Linked DNA regions of Homo sapiens: all the other regions are linked to region 1. Evidence: promoter capture Hi-C in 16 types of primary human blood cells and fetal thymus (Javierre and others, 2016). All regions are on one chromosome and are shown on one strand. Each heading gives the region's core, a stretch centred on a gene start or on the middle of the fragment in contact. The rest is flanking DNA. Distances are from core to core; before and after follow the strand shown.

The links. Contacts are between HindIII fragments. The CHiCAGO score rates a contact against its expected background, and 5 or more counts as called.
Region 2: a fragment that was not itself captured here is called in contact with the fragment with the promoter of NABP1 in region 1 in 1 of 17 cell types (total B cells); the score reaches 5.7 in total B cells.
Region 3: a contact is called between a fragment that was not itself captured here and the fragment with the promoter of NABP1 in region 1, in 4 of 17 cell types (total B cells, naive B cells, non-activated CD4 T cells and 1 more). The highest score is 10.3, in total B cells.
Region 4: a fragment that was not itself captured here is called in contact with the fragment with the promoter of NABP1 in region 1 in 3 of 17 cell types (naive B cells, M2 macrophages and total B cells); the score reaches 10.6 in naive B cells.
Region 5: a contact is called between a fragment that was not itself captured here and the fragment with the promoter of NABP1 in region 1, in 8 of 17 cell types (non-activated CD4 T cells, fetal thymus, total B cells and 5 more). The highest score is 17.0, in non-activated CD4 T cells.
Region 6: a fragment that was not itself captured here is called in contact with the fragment with the promoter of NABP1 in region 1 in 14 of 17 cell types (fetal thymus, total B cells, total CD8 T cells and 11 more); the score reaches 25.0 in fetal thymus.
Region 7: a fragment that was not itself captured here is called in contact with the fragment with the promoter of NABP1 in region 1 in 7 of 17 cell types (naive B cells, total CD4 T cells, total B cells and 4 more); the score reaches 15.0 in naive B cells.

What each region holds. Positions count from the first base shown.
Region 1 is chr2:191,676,442-191,679,473 of GRCh38, forward strand. It overlaps NABP1 (nucleic acid binding protein 1), which reads left to right and starts at 1,695. Exons shown (of 6, transcript NM_001031716.5): 1 at 1,695-2,264; 2 at 2,549-2,687. The coding sequence starts at 2,174. RefSeq lists enhancers at 1,247-1,326, 1,536-2,038, 2,866-3,032 and silencers at 1,387-1,736, 2,337-2,396. The HindIII fragment of the contact is 1,958 bases long and covers 157-2,114 here.
Region 2 is chr2:195,705,774-195,708,872 of GRCh38, forward strand. It overlaps SLC39A10 (solute carrier family 39 member 10), which reads left to right. Exons shown (of 10, transcript NM_020342.3): 4 at 843-1,012; 5 at 2,883-3,071. Among named protein-coding and RNA genes, the nearest start is that of SLC39A10, 50 kb to the left of the region's middle. The HindIII fragment of the contact is 1,518 bases long and covers 717-2,234 here.
Region 3 is chr2:196,117,304-196,120,292 of GRCh38, forward strand. No RefSeq gene overlaps it. Among named protein-coding and RNA genes, the nearest start is that of DNAH7, 50 kb to the left of the region's middle. The HindIII fragment of the contact is 190 bases long and covers 1,455-1,644 here.
Region 4 is chr2:196,098,847-196,101,884 of GRCh38, forward strand. No RefSeq gene overlaps it. Among named protein-coding and RNA genes, the nearest start is that of DNAH7, 32 kb to the left of the region's middle. RefSeq lists enhancers at 2,117-2,206, 2,227-2,376, 2,647-2,746. The HindIII fragment of the contact is 5,493 bases long and covers 1-3,038 here.
Region 5 is chr2:196,134,371-196,137,356 of GRCh38, forward strand. It overlaps STK17B (serine/threonine kinase 17b), which reads right to left. Exons shown (of 8, transcript NM_004226.4): 8 at 1-2,986. Among named protein-coding and RNA genes, the nearest start is that of STK17B, 36 kb to the right of the region's middle. The HindIII fragment of the contact is 5,241 bases long and covers 1-2,986 here.
Region 6 is chr2:196,166,624-196,170,005 of GRCh38, forward strand. All of the region lies in intron 1 of STK17B (serine/threonine kinase 17b), which reads right to left. Among named protein-coding and RNA genes, the nearest start is that of STK17B, 3.3 kb to the right of the region's middle. RefSeq lists an enhancer at 538-607. The HindIII fragment of the contact is 1,692 bases long and covers 1,286-2,977 here.
Region 7 is chr2:196,074,363-196,077,770 of GRCh38, forward strand. No RefSeq gene overlaps it. Among named protein-coding and RNA genes, the nearest start is that of DNAH7, 7.2 kb to the left of the region's middle. The HindIII fragment of the contact is 2,343 bases long and covers 450-2,792 here.

The DNA.
Region 1 (3,032 bases), core at 445-2,944:
GGATTGAGGTTGGACGCTGGCTCTGCCATTAACTGGCATGTTTCATCATTTGTTTTATTTGATGTTGAAATTATGCTTATAATTTTATTTTACACCACTTTCCAGTATGACATCAGTGTCTTTGGCACCTTGGGCTTTATTAGTTCATGAAATGGAAGCTTCTGTTTCCTTAAAAATGCCTTGACTCTCTTGCTAATGTTGTGATAATGTTTCCAACTCTTTCTAGGGCTATAATATCTATGCTGCTTGTTTGCAAATACTTGGGAAGTGGTGGTTGATCTAAAGATACTCAGAAAGAATGGGGAGAAAATTAAGGCTTCTGACACTTTTCCCAACATTTCTGTTATCATCACCAAGAATTAACTAGATGATTCTTTAATGCCCCACTACTTTATTCTGCTATTTTATTTCTTCAGTCTGTTTTTGACTCTTATAATGACACCACTGGAAGTTAAGTCTAAACATTACCTTTAGGCTGGAGAGCTCTGGGGTCAAGATTGACTAGATTTAAAACCCAGCTCAGCCATTCTCTAGCTATCTGGTCTCTGGTGAGTTCCATCGCCTGTAAAACGGGGATTAAAAAGGGGAAAATACTGAGTATGTACTATTTGCTAGGCACTAGTTGGACAATTTATGATCCATTTAATCAATCTTCTGCTAGGCAGGGATCCCCATTTTATTATGGTTAAAAAGCTGTAATAAAAGCCAATTGACCTAAAGCTCTCACAAGTAAATAGCTGGAGCCCAGGTTTGTCTCTAAAGCACATGCTCTTTTCACTACGCGACATAAAAAAAACTTTATTAATCTTTTTTTCCAGATTATGTTTCAAGGGTTCCCACTGCTGTTGAATAATTAATTCCTTTTAGATGTACAAAAGCAAGTGCAAAGTAAAAGAAGAAAAGCTAAATGGGGAAGGTGTGTAATATGAGAGGCAGGGGGTAAGGAAAAATGAGAAGTCTGCAAAGGAATTTACGTCCTATCTGCTTAGCATTACACAGTGGAAGCCCACGTCAGACATTTGTGTTGCAGTCCTGCCTGCTCAGGGGTTGCTGGGTGACCTTCTGCAAATTACCTCATCTTTCTGGGTTTCAATTTAAGTATGCCTGAAATGAGGCGGTTGAATTGATCTCCAAATTCCCTTCTGGTGCTAAACTTCCAGCCTTGTAGCCACTGACGCCTTCACCATCCCAGCCTGTTTTCCCTTGGTACCGGACCAGCTGCCCTTGCCCGAACCCTGTTCTTCCTCGACTGCGAACTTTCTAACGTACTCACAGGTTCTAAACTCTACCGTTCCTCGTGACCGAGGGACTAAAGGGCCCGGGCAGGGGCTCAACTCTGAGAGAAAAAAAGGCAAGAAAACTCCAAAGTTGGACAGCAAGCGTCAAAAGACTGCACAGCAGGAAGGCGAAACCGAACAGAACTGCTGCTGCGCGGCGACAGCTGAAGTGGGTGGAGAACGGGAGGGCGGGGGAGGCGGGGCCGAGAGCGATTGGAAGGACGAGGGGGCGGAGCCCGCGCTGACAGCCCCCGGGGAGGAGCGAGGGAAGCTCTGCGGGCTGCGGCGGCCGGGTCCCGCCCCTTTGCTTCCCCTCCCCAGCACCAGGCGGGCGTGGCAGCAGGCGTGCCGACGCAGCGTGACTTCACAAGGGGAGGGGCGGGCCGAGGGTCCTGCCGGCGCGCGGGCGTGTTCATCAGTCGCTGTTTGGGACGCTGGGTGTGCGGTGTTCTGTCTCCGCTCCCGTTTCGCTGTCACAGCCCGTTCCTTCCCGGAGCCCGGGACAGGCTGGGCGCGCGCCCGTGTGAGTGAGCGGGACTCAGGGCAGAAGTGTCCCCTCACTGCGTTTTTTTTTCCTTTTATCCAAAGAACGGGGCAGTTAGTACGCTTGCCTTCCTGTCGCCCGGTTGGGAGCGGGGTTGGTGTGCGGAGTGGTTCGCCTTTTTTTCTTTAGAACTTGTGAGCCTTTTTTTTTTTTTTTTTTTTTTTTCTTTTTTTAGGCTCAGTGCTGTCCGGGCTGGTTTGCCCGGTCCCTGACTAACGGCTTTCTGCCCCTTCTCTCGCCACCCCTGCCCAAGGTCGCCCCTCTGCCTTCGCCCCTGTCCCGGGAGGGTGGGAAGCTTTGACCCCGCCCTGCCCACTCGCGTCTCCGCAGCCGTAGCCGCGCCTGTCCCAATATGAATAGGGTCAACGACCCACTTATTTTTATAAGAGATATTAAGCCCGGACTGAAAAACTTAAATGTCGTCTTTATTGTCCTGGAGATAGGTAAGTGGGGTTTGCAGCCTACTCCACCGCCCGCTGTGCCTCCCGGGGCGGGAGACAGGGGCGCCGGCCGCTGCGCGCCCGGGGCTCCCCTCCTCCTCCCTCCCCTCCCCCACCCACGTGGCTCTAGTGGCCTCCGCCCGAGATCGGATCCTACCTGAGGCGGGAGCCCTGGGCTTGGTCACTTCCCACCTTCCAGATGTATTAAAATACCGGAGGAGGAGTTAGCCTTTCTGGATGTCCTCATTATCTAACAACCCCTCCCTTTGATTTTTAAATCCTCACAGGACGCGTGACCAAAACCAAAGACGGCCATGAAGTGAGATCGTGCAAAGTAGCAGATAAAACGGGCAGCATCACTATTTCCGTGTGGGATGAGATCGGAGGTCTTATACAGCCAGGGGATATTATTCGGTTGACCAGAGGGTAGGTGTGCAAAAAAGTCGGGGGACCTAACAGTCTGCAGAATCGGGATTGGCCGGCTCCTGGGATCTTGGCAAGCCCTGAAGTCCCCCGCCTTTTCTGTGGGCCACTCTTGAGGAGTTTTGAACTCCTTTGGTGTTAACTTTGGGTGGTGGGCAGCGCTGGGATGTAACAGACCTTTGCAGTGAAAGGCAGTCGGTTTCAGCTGGGAAATCCGCGCCTCTACCCCGGTTTACAGGTTAAGTAGATTTTTAATTATTATTATTTTTTGGGACCGAGTCTCGCTCTGTCGCCAAGCTGGAGTGCAGTGGCGTGATCTCTCCTCACTGCAGCCTCCGCCTCGCGGGT
Region 2 (3,099 bases), core at 226-2,725, 4.0 Mb after region 1:
GCCAATAATAGAAATTGTAATGAAAATGTCCAGCCCCCAAACCACTGGCATATATTTCTGATGTCTTACCTGTTTGTGAATGACCTAGATAAAGACATGTATACAGAATTCCCCTTCCCCACCATACCTATTTTTCTTTAAGTCATATTGTGAAAACATTTCTCTTGTGTTCTGAGCCAGTTAAAATTATATAGTGACTTTTTTTTAAGTGGTAAATTGTTACAGAAACCCAAATTGGAGGAATGGGAGTTTGGAACCAGGTGTGGAGAAAAAAAATCAAGAAAAATAGGACTGAACTAACCTTTGTAACAATAAAGCTACCAGTAATAAGACTTTTTTGTTATCTCATCATATGAATATATTTCCATTTGGGGCTATGTTACATTTCTTAAACTCTGTATTAGAAAGATTTACAAAGATTGTAACACGTTAAATAGATACTTGGCTTTTTTAATGTTCTCAGGTGAGTTTTATAATTATATTCTTTAAATAAACAGCTTTATTGTTGTGGCTCTGCCTTTAGACTTGGGAAATTTTTATTTATAGTTTAGCTATTAAGTGAATCACAGCCTTCAGTCATTTTAAGTCACTGGTTCTTATCTCGTGGGCCATTGAAGGTACTATTTATAACTTGATCTGAGTGTCTTAATTCTTTTTAAAAATGTTTAAGTTAGTTATATGTCATATTTTTGTTTTGTTTTTAAACAATGCCTTAAAGCTTTCATAATCTGGGTAAAATAGTCTACCTTCTACGATTCATTTATCTTATATTTTTATTCTTTTTGGTAGTCTGTTGGTTTAAATTGTTATACTAATGTTGACTCTTAATTTCTTTTCTACAGCCTGGATTTGTGGTATCATTTCTATCACTGTCATTAGCCTGCTTTCCTTGCTAGGCGTGATCTTGGTTCCTATCATTAACCAAGGATGCTTCAAATTCCTTCTTACATTCCTTGTTGCATTAGCTGTAGGAACAATGAGTGGAGACGCCCTTCTTCATCTACTGCCCCATGTAAGAAATGTTTTTAATGTTTTTAAAAATTTAAAATAAAAATATTTAAGCTGAAAGGGTCCTTCATTAGCAAGCTATAGCACAGTAATCTAGTATTTGTATTGTTTTATTTGCTTATAGGATGAAGTATTTTTTTCTCCATTTTCAGAGTTTTAATAGCAATATTTTTTTAAATAAATTGAATCATTAGGTCAACTTTGCTTTCAATAGTCTTTAAAAAAAACTCATTGGATTAAAATTTGCAATATCAGTAGCAGTGAGTGGTCTTTTTTATCTGTGTAGCATATCAGGTTAGCCTTTAGGAGAAATGCATAAGATATGTTGTAATGATTATGCCTGTAGGTGGTATGCCATCAGCATCTTTGAGCGGGAGTAGGCAGATACACTCAGTGCGCTGTTTTACACTTAGCTCTTTATACATGGGGGCATTTATCTTTTCACCTGTCATGCCAGTCCTTTTCTTCTCTTTGGGGACACTTCTAATTATATGATCACAAGCCCATATTCCTAGTACCATGCTTACCAACCTTTTTAAAAGTTGCTCTCTATAACCTATCAATAGTTAGTTAGGTAGATAGCTGTCTATCACCAGCTAAGAGTATTTAATTCACTCTTACTATTTTTACTTCAAATTATGAAAACAATGGGGATTTTTCTTTTCCAAATATAAAATTGAAGTATTGAGTATTTCCCTTCTAGAGAATTTGGGAGACAGGATTATATTTGTGTGTTGTGTATATCTCCTCTCTTCTGCACTCTTGGTTGAGAATTCCAGATTTAGTATCTACAGCAATATATGGCATTGCTTTTTTTTTTTTTAATAAACAGGTTAATGAATCTTAAGGCTGTGAATATGAAGTTTTTGTTTCACCATTTCTACTAGCCATCAAGAATAGCAACAGTTTCCTTTAGAACTGGGCCTAGTAAGAGTTATTGAAGTGAGAACAGTATTTAAGTGCTGTTCAACTTGTTTTTGTATTAAGAAGGGTTAACTAAACCTAGCTGTTACCTTTTTGAGTGGTCTGATATCCTCTGAGAGGTTTAGATATCTCTTTGGTTGACCACTAGTTAACAGGAAAAGAATACAAATAAATTTTAGAACGAAGAAAGATACCTAAGTGCAGTTATCTAACTTATGTTCTATAAGATTACTGTTGTGATACTTGTACATTTCATAATGTTGAAACATAACCTTTTCTATACATACATTTATGATTGCTAAAGCTTTAAAATATAGAAAATTACATATTTAAGGATACCCTCTTGCTAACTTTCCACAGTATATGCAGAGATAGCGACCTTATTACCTCTGAAATAATTTTATAAGAGAAGAAACTGATGAAATAATCTGTACAACAACTCCCCCTGACATAAGTTGACCTGTGTAACAAACCTGCACTTGTACCCCTGAACTTAAAATAAAAGTTAAAAGAAAAAATATATGATAATCAGTTTAAGAAAGAATTAGATTACAGGGAATCACAAGTGACTGCTGGTGAATTAGTTTGTGTGTTTTGTTTCATTTTTACTAAATATTTGGCATGTAAGTAGATCATGTTCACTTCAATTTACAAAGAACCCATCACTCCCTATTGTTACTTCTGGCTTGATTCTCTCACTGTAGTATGTATCTTATTCTTATAGCATTTGACTTGGTGTCTTTGAGTTACTGTAAAATGTAGTAGTATTTTGGACAACTGAGTAAAGCAAATTAAATGGAAGACTAAGTGAGATAATATCTAGGGGAGCACTTTAAAACTTGAAAGGTATTTTTTCTGTGTCATTTAGGAGATTATAATTATTATAATTTCAAAATTTTAAATAGCATTTCAATTATTTGTTTAGAAGTTTTATTTGTTCTTATTAATAGTCTCAGGGTGGACATGATCACAGTCACCAACATGCACATGGGCATGGACATTCTCATGGACATGAATCTAACAAGTTTTTGGAAGAATATGATGCTGTATTGAAAGGACTTGTTGCTCTAGGAGGCATTTACTTGCTATTTATCATTGAACACTGCATTAGAATGTTTAAGCACTACAAACAACAAAGAGTAAGTATTTTTTATTTATTTAATTTTA
Region 3 (2,989 bases), core at 300-2,799, 4.4 Mb after region 1:
TTATTCTATTTCTGGGAAGAAAGGGGACAGGTTTATTTGTAGTATCCCATGCTTAATCATTAGTATTAAATGAATTAGGACCAGAACGAATCAAAGAAGCAAACAGCTGATTACGGCTGCTTTGTAAGAGAAAGAAGTAGTTGATGTTCACACAGGTTAAAGCAGCCAAAAAGGCCTCTAAATAAATGGCCAAGTCTTTTTCTCCTTTTAAACTTGTTTTCTATGGTCTTTAGTTTGTGATTACTTAGATATTCACTTATTTCAGAGGCCTTTTTGTGCAAATCCCAATTTAAAACCTAATCACGTTCTTATTAAATTGGGCTAACGACTGCTTTCAAAAGAAGAAACAAACTACAATAATTTATCTATAAAATTTGACTTTCTATGACTATACAGGCAATTAATTCAATTCTAAAAATGACAAAATTTAGTCATAAAATGATCCAGGCTGAAATGAGGAAAGATCATTAAGTCTCATAGATTTATTCATGATTATCGACATATATAGAGAGAGAGTAAAGGAGGATTGTGATATGCATTATAGAACACGGAGAATCTGTGTTTTGTTAATTCAATAATTCCCTCTTATTCTTTTCCCCACATATATTTTGCAGCCATTGTTTGTTATTCAGTATAGCTGGAGCAACTGTCCACTTGCAATTGTGTCTGTAATTGGTGACCCAGTTGCATTTTACAATCTGGCTAGAAATATCAGTATAATTAGCATATATCTTTCCTTTGGCCTTTCAAAGGGGTATTGCCATCACTAAATTTAAATTCCAGTGGTGAAACCACAGAGAGTGGAATCCTAGCAACTAATTATAAAATAATCCATTTTTTGCTTATTCTGGGAGTTGATCATAGCACAGGGTTGGCACAGGACCTAAACGTGAGAGATAATTCATCTGACCCAACCACAGTTTCACCCACCCTATCCATTGGAGGCATTCTTGAACATTTTCTTTAGTATATTTTATTTTATTTTATTTTATTTTTGAGACAGGGTTTCACTTTGTCGCCCAGGCTGGAGAGCAGTGGCACGACCTCAGCTCATGTCAGCCTTGACCTCCCGGGCTCAAGCGATCCTTCCACCGAAGTCCCACAAGTAACTGGGACTACAGGCATCTGCCACCACACCCAGCTAATTTTGTATTTTTTTGTAGAGACGTGGTTTCACCATGTTGCCCAGGCTGGTCTTGAACTCCTGGACTCAACTGATCCACCAGACTTGGCCTCTCAAAGTGCTGGGATTACAGGTGAGCCACTGCACCTGGCCTTTAGTAATGTGTTTTACAGGGAAGGACTTTTCAACAAGCTGGATGATTGGCTTGTTTCCTGCAAGAAAAAGTTACATTTCCATCTAAAAAGATGGAAAAGTGTGTGTGTGTGTGTGTGTGTGTGTGTGTGTGTAAATTATATGGGAAAATGTTGGAACTTCCCTATTCTCACTAGAAAGCTTTGATAGATAAGTCAGAAGATATGGAAAGACCTGTATTTTCAGGTATGGAAAATATTGCAAAAGAGGTAAATTGATAGAGTTAAAGGAGGCATGAGAGTGCAGTCTCCTGGTTCTGGAAGCCAAGGCATGGCCAAGCTGAGTCCCCAGCAGAAGGCCTTGACAATGACTTTGTATCAAGAAATTCAAGCTTCAAGATATTGAGGGCCCATGAGAACCAGAGCATGTTGTATTGGAACCTACTGCTGCTTTCTAATAAAGGTATGAAGCTTACAGTGCTACAAAGAGGATTACTGAAATGGTCTTACTTGGATCAATAATTTCTAAGAGCCTGCCCTTCCCAGGCCCTTCTCCAGTACAAGAACTGATGTGTTCCCACAAAATAACTTGAATTCAATTCCGGGATAAGCCAGATCTTTGGAGATTATTGGACCACATTGCTTTAACATCTAGTACCTTGTTTTCCAAATAAGTGTCCTTGCTTAATATTTAAAAAGATGTTAGTAAGGTTGAAGTAATTATGAAATACATTACATATTACAATCCTCATTTGAAGATTCCTTGTGTAAATTAAAGCCTCCAAAGAATCCTGCAGTAAAAATGCAAGTTTAACACTGTTAAATATGGTGTTCCCAAAACATAGTTGGGCACAGAACTCTTAGTGCCACATATCTTTGCCACATTATGAGGAATGTGAGTTTGGGAAACATGGATAATTATGTCAATTAAGATGCTTTCAGCTGCTAATAATAGAAAACCCAAAAGAAAATAGCTTAATCTAACAGATGTTTATTTTAATCATATACTGAAAAGTCAAGAAGGAGATGACTGCTGTTACTGCTCCAGTGACTTCTGTGGGTCAATAATGTCAGGGCCAGCATCTCCAACATTCCCTTGTCCCTGAGGACAAGGTGAGGAGGTATAAGGCTGTCAGCAGCATTTCTGCTTTTCATCAAGGTATCAAAAGCCTTTCAGAAGCCACCCAGCAGACTTCCAGTTCATCCCTAATTCCAACTGAGCTGGAATAGCCTCTATAGTGGAGGCAGGCAAGGGAGAAAGACCTTGGCTATGACTGGTGAGTTGGCCAACCTACAGTGCCCTTAGCAATGGTAGAATTACCTTCAGGGACTTGTATTGTGGTTTTATACTTCCAGCTTCCACCAAGAGACACGGTTAGAACTAGTTACATGAAATCTACTGCTTTTATAGTGAAGAACATTCAGTTCATGTTGTTGTTGTCCAAAATAAAAGAATAGCTGTAATAAGATCCACATGAGAAACTCTTCTCAGGCACAATGCTATCTTCCCCCTCCCATGCTCATTCCAGAGACAACGTTAACCCCTACACAACTTTTGGTTTTATCTTAGCCCTAGAAGCCACATTCTTGGTGTTGGATGGTTCTCTACAAGGTCCTGCGATATTCTCAACATGCACTAGGGAACTGGGCAAGGTTCTTGTCACTGCTCTAAAATCCAGAGATTGATCTCTCCTTATTTGCTTCTGAGCTTTTTCTATTCTTTTTAAACTGTACT
Region 4 (3,038 bases), core at 223-2,722, 4.4 Mb after region 1:
TCCTCTCTTCTGCCTTATACTGACCTGTGACCAGTGTCAGATGGGCCTCTTAGAGCAAACCTTTCTGCTCTTCCTTCACCCTCTCCACTGTCTTCACACACTGTCCATGTGGAATCTTTCTTTCTTAAAGGGCATAGATAATGACTGTGCCCCATGAACTGAAGTCATGGTTGGTGAGTTTTCAGCCTCCATTTTTTTCAGTTTTTCAATTGCTGTTGGCCAGGAGCCCCTTCCAAAAATCAACACATCATGCCTCTATTCTGGAATAAGCATCTTCCAGGTAACCCTCAAATGGATCATATTTTGAGAATTGCAGGCTCACTTCAGTTAGCACGGCATTAGCAAGCTATTCTCTTTCTATCTTCTTCAGAGGTGTTTATTCAGTGGCTCCTGTCTGTGAAGGGTGTCTTCAATCTGCAGTCTGAAGGAAAGAATCTCCACCAGCCATATTTTTGCCAATGCTTGTCCCATTGTTTCTTCCTTGCCACTCCTCCAAAACACACACATACATTCTATACCTCTACTAGCACCCACTATAATCACTGTTTCTACATTCACAGATGCAAAATGCCTTTATGTTCAGAGATGGTTAACATTTTCTTTTTGTCACAAAATCTGTAGGTTGCTTTTTGGATTTTTAGTAATAATCTTACATAGAATACACTTACATAGGACATGGTTCCTAGCCAAAGACATCCAAAAGGTTTGCTCAAAAACATGTCTTGTTGGGTCAGCCTTTATTAAATCCTCCCCAGGAGCCGATATTTTGGGAACAAAATATTACTGGTAAAGAGAAGCATGTGAAGTTTCCAAAAGCAAAAGTGTCTGTAACCAATGAACAGATAAAATTTCAAGGCCTATACAGTAAAGCAGCTGTTAGATGATTTACTGGAAAATTCCTCCAAAACATAATAGAGGCTGCCCACTACAAAGGAAATATTTTTCCTTCAAGTGCATAATATTCAAGTTCAATATGTTATGTACTCAAATTACCTCTCTATTAAAATCTGGGGTTTTCACGATAACCTCCACCATGGGGACTTGATTCTCATTCCATCCCAATGAAAAGCCAGGACAGCACTGGTTGGTGTGAGATTCATGAGGTGAGTTCCAAACTCCAGAGACTCATTCCTTTTGTGCAGCTTCCAGTATCAATAACACAGGATAGGACTTCATTTCCCAGGCATATAAGTGACTCACACTAAACTAGACAAATTCGATAACCTCTCACTTTCATTTAGAGAAATGATCATAAAGCTGCCAGTGGGGCACCATGTGATTTTCAAGGCGGGCAGCACAATTGCAAAACAATACTTGCAGGAATCATAGAGGAAGAGAACAATTGTTTCCAGCACCTCCCTTATCTCACTATATGGACAGACAGTGCATAGAGGGACATTCTCAGATGCCACAGCACTTGAGTGTTTTGGTAAAGTCCTGATGGAGACCAGGGAAAGCGGCAAGAGAGTGAGGTGTGCAGCACACAGCACAGTCACTGCTCCACAGCACCAGAGATCTGGAGGCACACGTGGAACCAAATGGGCCAAAAAAAAAAAAAAAAAAAAAAAAGGAATTCATAGTCCTCAGGCCAAGAATTCTCCATTTAACCTCATTCTTGACTCTGCCAACCCACGCGATCATTTATTAGGAGTTAACAGAAACCTTTAGGGAGAGATTTGTTAAGGGTTACAGAATCAGAGCAAGGGAGGAGGAATACGTTTCTAGTGTTCTATACCACTGTAGGACTACTACAGTTAACAATATGTAGTTTCAAATAGCTAGAAGGAAGGATATTGAATGTTCCCAACACAAAGAAATGATAAATGTTTGAGATAATGGATATGCTAATTACCCTGATCTAATCATCATACATTATATGTATCAAAACATCCTTACATACCCCATGAATATGTACAATTATTATGTGTAAATTAAGAAAGAAAGAAATCTCTTGGACTCCATGTAATGTATTTACGCACAGAACACATTCTGGCTCAAACTAGGAGGTGGAGGTCTCCAACTGTACAAAGGGCACTATTGCACTTACTAGGGGTAAGGATTAGAGCTTTCGATCTACACAGGAAAAGTAGAAATGGCAGTCAAGAGCCACAGTGATGCAAGCTGAAGTCAAACCAAGAGGTGTTCCCTGCCACTTGTCTCTTATTTTGAACATGCCAACTAATTGCAGCCCACCCATCCATCCTTCCTTGTGCCAGAGGTGAGGGCTAAGCCATTGCTGCAGAAGTCCTCTTCAGCAGATAGCTGTTTATCTGGTCCTTGATTAATGGTAAGGGGGCTGCTCCTAGCTTTGTTTGGATGTTCAGACAGCAAGAGAGGACACTTGGTTTCAATATGTATATCTATTTGATTCAACCTCCAGCTAAACAATCCTGTTTTCCCTAAGAAATGAACATGGAAATGGTCAAATGTCCACAGGAACATTGGTACAGGAGGAGTATGTTCAATAATCACAAGATATGAGTCAGATGTTCAGAGTGTGATTTTGATATGAACCTTTATTGTGGGAGAGGGAGGGAGGGTTGAGCTATCTGAGAATCAGTTCTGGCTCAGTCCCTTGAGCCTGCTTGGGTGCGAAGGTTTCAGTTCTGTGTCAGTGACTCAGCTCTACTCTGTTCAGGGAAGATAAATTAGGTGCCACGTGCTTTACTCTTAGTGAAATAGGTTATTTTGGGGGAAATATGTGGAAAGTTACTTTTTAAGAAATTCCAGTGAATATGAAGGGCTCCTATCTGAAAAGATGCACATTTGGCTTGTTGTGAGAATTTTTTCCTTCCTTATGAAAAACATCTTGTCTTCAAATTTGTCTGGAACTGTTTACTACATTGCCCTTTTGAGTTGCACCAATAAGAAGGGAGTCAAACACCATTTCCAATAATACTCTGCTCAGTCATAGTGACAGTATGCCCCTGCCTCCCACGCTGCCACACCAGTCCCAGCCGAGGAGCACCTGTGAAGTCTGTTCTGCATCACAGCAGTAAGCAGTCACAGGGCCTATTAGTTATGCACAGCAGGAGAGA
Region 5 (2,986 bases), core at 170-2,669, 4.5 Mb after region 1:
GGCATTAGATTCTCAAAGGAGCTCGAATCCTGCTGTGAACCACACGTGCAAGAGATCTAGGTTGCATGCTCCTTATGAGAATCTAATGATAAATGTAATGTACTTGAATCATCCTGAAACCATCCCCCTAAACCCCCAGTCCTGTGGAAAAATTTTCTTCCACAAAACCCGTCCCTAGTGCCAAAACAGTTGGAGATCGCTCCACTAGAGAACAGTTAACGGCTTACTTCCTTTAAAGTGCCATTACAATTTCACTGCTCAGAGCTAGGTTCTTTACTGTAGGGAAAATAATTAAAATGACAATTGCAATTGTCATCTATATATCATCTATTTAAAAATCCCATCTATTTAGGGATCCTACCCAAAAAGCAAATTTAACTTTAAATTATCACAACATAACACTTATCTTCTCATGTGTTCAAGTGTTACTGACATTTGTCCACTCACAGGGGCTCTCTAGATTCCTACTTTAGAGAAATACATTATGCTTTTCAATCTTGGGAGAAAAAGAGTAAGAATTGAATCATTTGCTAAAAAGCTCTTAAATGATTGGTCTATTTTCATATTCCAATCAATAACGTTATTTAAATTCACACCTTTGTAAAAAGAGTGGATTTTTATATTCTTTGTGCAATCACTAGTTGCTTTTTTACTATAAAACTTAATATCAGGAAAAAAGGCATGGAAATTTACAGCTCTGTATTCTACTACTTAAAGGTAGATGTAAAGTATTTTAAGATTTTCAGACATTTGTAAAAATGTCTTTTAACAAATGAACTTATAATTTAAAATTCAAATATTTCTTGATTTTTTGGGGGATGGCATGATTCCTCTAAAAATTAAAAATATAATATGGTCTTCAGAAACATAATCATTTCATTATCCAATGACTTACTAAACTTTACTTGCATTATCTTAATACCAAAGGCAAGTAAATGGACAATCAACAATTTAGAAACAACTCATCAGTTTTAGATATACAAGGGCTCAATTTAGATTATACAACGTCTAGTTTATTGGACCAACAAACTACTTAAAGAATTTAAATGTCATAAGAAGAGAACATAAAGTCATATAAAGAATATAAATGTCATAATTTATATGTCATAAGAAAAGAGCTCCTGGGCGGGGGCGCAGTGGCTCACGCCTGTAATCCCAGCACTTTGGGAGGCCGAGGCGGGTGGATCACTTGAAGTCAGGAGTTTGTGACCAGCCTGGCCAACATGGTGAAACCCCGTCTCTACTAAAAATACAAAAATTAGCTGGGCACGGTGGCATGCGCCTGTAATCCCAACTACTCAGGAGGCTGAGACAGGAGAATTGCTTGAACCCGGGAGGCAGAGGTTGCCGTGAGCTGAGATCATGCCACTGCACTCCAGCCTGAGAGACAGAGCAAAACTCCATCTCAAAAAAAAAAAAAAAAAAAAAAAGCTCCTTTGGCACCTGAGTTGAGCACAATATACCACAGCAAAGAATCTTGAAAAGTGTCTAAAGAATGTATTGTATCTATCTATAGATATATACATACACCTGTACATACACACATGTGCACACATACACACACAAGTAGAGAAAACTTTTCCTTAACAAATGCTGAAGACATTAAAGGAATTCACCATGTGGTCAAATAAAGTGACCTGATAGTTATTCAAAAAGTTTTAAGTTATTATTAAAGAATTTGGAAACTTACCAAAATTTTGAGAAGTTAAAGGTCTAAAGGGGGAACATCAGGTTGTTGTTACCATTTGTCAAACTATTTCTTCTGATACAGCAACATGGTCATGAGATCACAGTTATCGTAACATGATAACAGACCAATATAACGGTCATCAGGTGAAAATTCATAAAAGATTACCCGAAAAGGACTAACTTTCCCCATCATTAGGGCTGGATATAGTCTCTAGCCATAAGCAAACATTTTGCTCTCCCTAGTCTCTTGCATTGGTCCCAGCAAAAGACCACAATGAGGGGCCACTCTGCAGATGGCTTTAAGCTGAGCCTCCTCACTCACTAGGAATTTCACACAAGAACTTCAGACGAGCCTGATGTCATGTTTTATGATCACATCAGTCTTGCTACCGCTGACTCGGGCACTGTGTTAATAGACCTACCGGTGCTGTAATTTTTTATGCATACTTTTAGAACTCTGAATGACTGGCTTGTATTCTAAGATGCAGAAGACATCTAAAATTCAGTAAGCTGTCTGAGTGTGTCAACATTTTCTTCTATATTCAATTAATAAATATGTTTGACTAAAAATACAGAATATTTAACTATACCTAAGTATCTTCTACTCTAGAAATTCTGGAGGATTAAAAAACTCTACACTTGCATACCAAATATCTCCATCTTCCAGACCTTATCAGATCTCAAGTAGGTTGGGAGGAGGAAAAAGACATTTGCGTTAAAATACGAAGGCATGCTACTCTTTCCTCTGCTCCAACTTGTAAAGAATATCCCTGATCAGGTTTCTAACTCCCTCTTTGCTCTAGTTAAAGGATCTCTCTCATATAACAGACCACAGAGAATGAAAATCTTACGAAGTTTCAAAATATTTGTAATTGAAAGACATTTTCAATTGTAAAATGTCTCTTGAGCATCTATAAAGTAGAAATTATTTTGGCTTAAACTTCATACTGCTTTCCTAAACAAATTATGTTGATAGAGGCATGGTATAAGAGTCACCTTAGAGAGAGAACCTATTAAATTCCAATGTCTTCACTGTGTTCAGTTTACACCAACTATAATAAAACTCAAGCCACTTTTTTTGTTGATATGCAAAACATTCTGGTAAGTTCATTTGAAGTTGAATTATTTCATTAACATGTAAACTCACATGTACAATTTTACTTTTTGTCATATATTTAAATATTTTCTTATCTGCAGAGCTATCTCAGGATATGAAATCATAACATGCTAGCAACTAGTAATTTAACATTAAAACACTTCCCTAAATTATTCCATGGAAAAGTGCATTTACAATATA
Region 6 (3,382 bases), core at 882-3,381, 4.5 Mb after region 1:
CACTTATTTTTAAAGATTTTTTTCATTAATTCTCATTATAATAATTACCAAAAGAATTTGGAAGTAGATCAGTGAAGGAAGGAAAAGAAGGAAATGTTAGGCTTGATCTGGGCCTTCACTTACTTGAATGCAGAAAGCAAGTGTGATGTGAACAAAAGCAAGACTATCTCTATAAACCTCTAGCTCTATTTTAAAAAGTATTTATCATGATATTTATTTCAAAATTATCAAATAAGAAAGTTTTTAAAAAATAGAATATACAATAATAAAGACATTTAGAAAATCAAATTGTCTGTTTTGATTCCTTCATTAGCTCCCCAGTATCTACAAGCTTTCAAGTACTTACAGCATGACACATAAAGGCCTCTGAGGCCAAGTATACACCAGCTACATTTCCTGCCGCACTCATATTTCATATTTTGCCACCACATCTTTGTTATACTTCTTTGCCTGAAAAAGCCTTTCTACTTTCCTTAAATGGCTAACTCTTCTTACACATCCTTCAAAACTCAACACAGAATGGCCTCTCCCCCAGGAAGCTTTGCCTAAAAACCACAGGCTGATTTAAAGGCTTCTCCTTTATGCTTCAAATAAGAGGATCCTTGGCATACTTCTTTACCTCAAAATGTAACATGTTAGATTGCAATTCTGTTCAGTGTTTAAAGGGCAGCATCCTTTTACTTTTGTGCCTAAGCAACCAGCATGGTATCTGCCACCCGGTAGGAATTTTAAAAATGTTTGATGAACTGAATTGTAAGAATTATGAGATATAGAAAAAAGAATTTGTAGGTATATCTCATGTCTTCGAGGGGTTAGGAGAACTTGAGATCCATCTTGAATTTACAGTACTGGAGCTCTGAATGCAGCTAGTCTCTGCTTAATTCAGCATTTGGACAAATAAAGTAACTATTTTAAATTGCACTTACAAAATGTCAGTTCTAAACAGGTAGCCACAAAGTCTGGAAACACAGATAAAATTATTTTGTCATATACTATAATGTAATGCCAATAGACCTTTTGTTTTTACCACTGTTTCCAGACAAGGTGGCTACTTGTTTTTAATATAAGCTACTAATACAAATACCTACTGCAGTTAAGAACATCACTCTTTTAAGAGCCTCCAAAAATCAGGAGATTCAGGTAAGTGTCCTATCAAGATTTATCACTGATAAGTCTAGATCATCATGAAGTACATTGGAAAGGCAACAGGAAGCAAAGTAAGCCCGAAGATTCTAAGGGAAGCAACTCCTTTCTACATAGGCATTTAAGGCATTTACTGCTAGCAAGCTTTCCCTAGGAAACTGAAAAAGAGATTTAACGTCCATCAAAAGTAAAGGAAGAACTTTCTCCTGGTGTGGCAGAAGTATGTGTTTTTAATTAGTCATTGATTAGAAGTATTGGTATCAAGATGGAAATGATGATGATTTTCAATTTCAAGGAAGAGATTATATTCCTCATATGTATTCTGCCAACAGGTTTTGTTTTTTAAAATATTTTGAACAGAAAATATAATTCATAAACTTAATCCTCTAAAAATCACAATAGGAAGTCAGCTAAACTAACTCTAATCCAACCATTCTAGTATATACTATCCAAGGGCTGAAGTGTCAGGCAATGACTCCTAGGCCTGACTCTGTGCCAAGACCCTAAGGCCTAATGCTGTGTCTTCCCACCTCCAGAAAAAGAGTTAAACCTGTTAATTGTGAACCAGGATAAAAGGTTGAAAAACGGAAATAGAGTGGGGGATTCCGGGGTGGGCAACAAATGCATGGTGCTTGTCACTCACAAGACGGAAAATTGGGTTTCTGTTGTAAAATATTGTTTACTTAATAGCACCGCTTAAGTACTATTTATTCAGTAACTATTACAATGCAAAATGGAATCTGCCTTTAAGGATTAAAGAGGAAATTACCATCTCACTGTTAAAATTTTTCAATGCTTACAGTATCACTACACCCTCTTTTGGAGTAATTGCAAAGGGTCAGGGATGAACCAAAATACAATGCATATAAATATTAAAAGAAACTAATATATATGTTTTAAATGGCACTGAAGTTTGAGGTTAAATGTTCTGGAAAAAGGATAATAAAAAACTTAATAAAGTATGCCCTGAAAATTGCAACATTACAACATATTTAAATAAAAATACATGCTTGTAACTTTATAAGAACATTTCTTAACTGAAATATTCAAAGAAATAGCCTTTGATAACAGCCCAGCATAGAATACAAACTACAGTACTTAAACATAAAATCACTGAATTTTGTCATCAATATTATGAAAAACTAAAGCAACTGACATTTGAAGTTTTCCTAAGTGGAAAGGTAGTAGATAAATGACTGCTAATGTTTCTGACAAAACAAATACCCATACAGTGCAGAAGATTTCTTTATGAAAAGAAGAATCAATCAGTATCCTTTAAAAGTAGTAAGCCTAGGAATACTATTTTTTTTTTTTTTTTTTTTTTTTTTGAGACGGAGTCTCCCTCTGTTGCCCAGGCTGGAGTGCAGTGGCGTGATCTCGGCTCACTGCAACCTCGGCCTTCCGGGTCAAGCAACTCTTCTGCCTCAGCCTCCCGAGTAGCTGGGACTACAGGCGCGCGCCACAATGCCCGGCTAATTTTTGTATTTTTAGTAGACACGGGGTTTCACCATATTGGTCTCGAACGCCTGACCTTATGATCCGCCCGCCTCGGCCTCCCAAAGTGCTGGGATTACAGGCTTGAGCCACTGCGCCCGGCCAGAATACTATTCTTAACTGCCAATCTTACATACAGAAAATGTGAATTACAATATACTATGCATGCAATTTTAAGGCAATTTAACGATTAAGTGAAAGTGTTATTAACTGAATTCCTTGACTTCTTGTGTCTCTAAAATTAAAGCAAAAATATTTTCATAAGGAAATTCTCCCTTATAATTATCAAAGAGCTTTAAAACATGTTAAAATGTTCACTTAACAAAAGTAAAACAGAGCAAGCTTAAAAATAAAATTATCTGATTAGAAACGTCAGCCATAAAAATGCTTGTATCTTCTTCAAATTTGTTACTCATATGCTAACACAGCGATTAGTCAAACCTCCAACTTCCTAAAAACGCATTCTATCTTAACCAAATCGTAATTCACTAATCAATGATCCCAAGAGAAACCGCAACCATTCTATTCACACACAAAAAAGGATGGTCTTCAATTACAGAAATTCTACTTTTAAAAAGTCTTGCCATGTAAGCAAATATATTTCACCTCAATTTTGGATCCCTACTTTAGAAAAAAAAAAAGATCTAAAATGTACAATATGTATCTCAAAAATAAAACATCTATTAATACCTCCAATTATTAAGATACTAGAAAAAGTTTAATTGAGCATCTGCTCAGAGGAGGA
Region 7 (3,408 bases), core at 371-2,870, 4.4 Mb after region 1:
TTAGACATGTTGGACCACTGTATCTCACAAATTATAAAAAGGAACTTTATCAATCTTGTCATTTGTCTCTTGAAAGATCCTCTTTTGCACTTAGTGCTTGATTTGGGTAAAGCTGTCTGTATGCTTTTGGTTTACTAATCTATAAATATGGAAGTCCATTTTAAAAGAAGGTATCTGGGGACTAAAACTGGTTCCTCCATTTAACCAAATATGAAAGACCAAATAAAGAAAAGAAATTGAATTACTGATATTTTGGTTCCCTGAGCTTGAACTTCAGTTACATTTATGATCTTGTGTTTTCTCTTATGGTTTGGATGTTTTTTGCTAAAATGATTTTATTAGACATGAACCAAATGTTTGCTTAGGAATTTTATGCCCAAACTTGTGCTGATTCTAAGGGAATTTTTTACAAGACTATGTTTTTTTTTTCCCTTAAAATATATTGTGTAAGCTTATGCAGCTGCTGAGTTCTGACTTTTTATGTTGTTATTTGTTACTACTTTTTTTTTTTTTTTTTTACCTCCTGCTTTTGAAACTGTAGCATGTGTGGAAGGAAGCAAGGAGTGCTAGAGCTTATTTTACATCCTCCTTTGAGGCAGTGTGGCAGCTTTTTTGTTACCTTAGGATGGAGTATAAGATTGGGAAAATCAAATGTACAACTTAAAACAGAGTCCAGAATCTGGTTTGTTGTTGTTGTTTTGCCATGCTTCTCTCTTTGTGAACTGATACTTGTACTCATTATCCTCATCTTGCTCAGTCAACAAATATTTCCTACCTGCAGTAGGCCAGACACCATTCTAGGCATGAGAGATACAGAGAGCAGCCAAGATCCCAGTTTCTGTTCTAGGAAAGAGAAATGGAAAATTAGTGAGAAAAAAATAAGTAAATTAATAAATGAATAATTTGAGTTGGTAAAAAGTCCAAAAAGAAAATGAAACAAGGTAATGGGAGAGACTGTCATCAATGAACACATCTTCCAGGAGACATTTGAGCTGGGATCTGAATGACCAAAATGAGCCAGCCATTCAAATACTTTGGAAATGAGTTTCCCAGGAAGTAAAGAGCAGCTAGATCACAGGTCCAAGTAGGGGAATGAGTTTGAAATGTCCAAAGGCCTGAAGAAGGCCAGGACCATAGTGAGGAAGGATGTTATTTTAATTACATGGAGAAATCATAAACGCAAACAGGGCAAGAGGGGTAGGAGGAAAGCCAATTAGGAGCCTACTGGAATAGGCCCGGGAAATACCAATGGTGGCTTAAACTAGAAGGAGGCAAAATTAGAAAGATGGAGAGAAGAGGACAAATCAGGGATATATTTTGGAAGAAAATCTGCTAGGACTTGCTAGAATAGATGTAAGGGATGATGATAAGGTAAAATTACTCCTAGGGTTATTTTTTTTTGCCTGAACCTCTTGGTGGATGGTTGTGCCTTAAAATGAGGAAGGCCAGGAAGCAGAAAGACATGTTGGAAGGTGAAAGAAAATTTAAAACTCATCTGGGTGTGTTGGCTCATGCCTGTAATCCCAGCACTTTGGGAGGCCTTGACCAGTGGATCACCTGAGGTCAGGAGTTCCAGACCAGCCTGGCCAACATGCTGCAAAAATTAGCTGAGTGTCATGGTGTAAGCCTGTAAATCCCAGCTACTTGGGAGGCTGAGGCATGAGAATCGCTTGAATCCAGGAGGCAGAGTTTGCAGTGAGCCGAGGTCGCCTCAGTGTACTCCAGCCTGTGCAACAGAGCAAGACTGTCAAAAAAAGGAAAGGAAAGGAGAGAGGAAGGGAGGCGAGGGGAGAAGGGAGGGAAAGGGGGAGGGGGAAAGGAAGTGGAAAGAAGGGAAGGAAGGAAGGAAATTAAATTTAAAATTCAGTTTTTTTTAGTGGTGATTTCTGAGATTTTAGTACACCTGTCACCTAAGAAATGTACACTGTACCCAATATGTAGTCTTTTATCCTTCACCCCCTCCCACCTTGAGTCCCCAAAGTCCATTATATCATTCTTATGCCTTTGTGTCCTCATAGCTCAGGTCCCACTTATAAGTGACAACATACAGTATTTGGTTTTCCATTCCTGAGTTACTTCACTTAGAATAATGGCCTCCAGACCCATCCAAGTTGCTGCAAAAGACATTATTTTATTCCTTTTTTATGGCTGAGTAGCACTCATGGTGTATATATACCACATCTTCTTTATCCACTCATTGGTTGATAGGTACTTATGTTGGTTCCATATTATTGCAACTGTGAATTGTACTGCTATAAACATGGGTGTGCATGTGTCTTTTTTATATAATGACTTTTTTTCCTTTGGGTAGATACCCAGTAGTGGGATTGCTAGATGGAATGGTAGTTCTGTTACCAGGGATGCTGCCTTGGGATGGATCCTTTAACCGAGATCAACAGAGCTGGAGCTCTGGACCAGCAATCTCAGTTCTTGTGATAGTGAGCAAAGAAATGCAAACTAACAGCAAAGTGCAAGCTCAAAGCAAAGTTCATTAAGGCACAGTAATACACTCTCAAAGGGAGAGTGGGCCAACTTCTACGAAGTGAAATCAGCCACTCTTTGCAGAGCTCAGGATGCTTTTATGGGAGGAGTTGAGGCCTGGGCTGTGTTTGAGTGACAGGATGATGTCATTTGATTGGCAGTTTATAGTTACATAGCTGAAGTTAAACTGAGCATGTTTTTACCGATCTTTCGTTAAGAAAAGCCCACTCAGAGGGGCAAAACCACAAGTAAATTTTACTATAATGACTGTATAATAAGGATGGGGTTCCCCAGGGTTATGGCCTAGATCAAGCTTGTCCAAATGTGGCCCAGGACAGCTTTGAATGTGGCCCAACACAAATTTGTAAGCTTTATTAAAACATTATGAGATTTTTTGCAATTTTTCTCTTTTTTCTTTTTTTTTGCTCATCAGCTATTGTTAGTGTTAGTGTATTTTATGCATGGCCCAAGATGATTCTTTCAATGTGGCCCAGGGAAGCCAAAAGCTTGGAAAACCCCTGGCCTAGATGGACGGGGCATGTGTCACATTAGGAAATTTTTATCTGTGCCCCAGTTTTTCTTTCCCCAGGATGTGCTGGCCACAGACTTTATCACAAATTCTGTCCATTAGGGTGGAGCTATGGTGATTTGGGGGCTGAATTTAGGTGGGCCAGGGCCTGTCTTAGTGACAGCCCTTCTGCTTTCTTCTCTCACCCCCTCCGAGCTGCTAATGTCTACCTAACTACCTAACAGCTCTACTTTTAGCTCTTTAAGGAATCTCCATACTGTTTTCCATAATGGTTGTACTAATTTACATTCCCACAAGCAGTGTAAAACTGTTCCCTTTTCACCACATCCACACCAACATCTATTGTTTTTTGACTTTTTAATTATGGCCATTCTTGTAGGAGTAAGGTGGTATCTCAT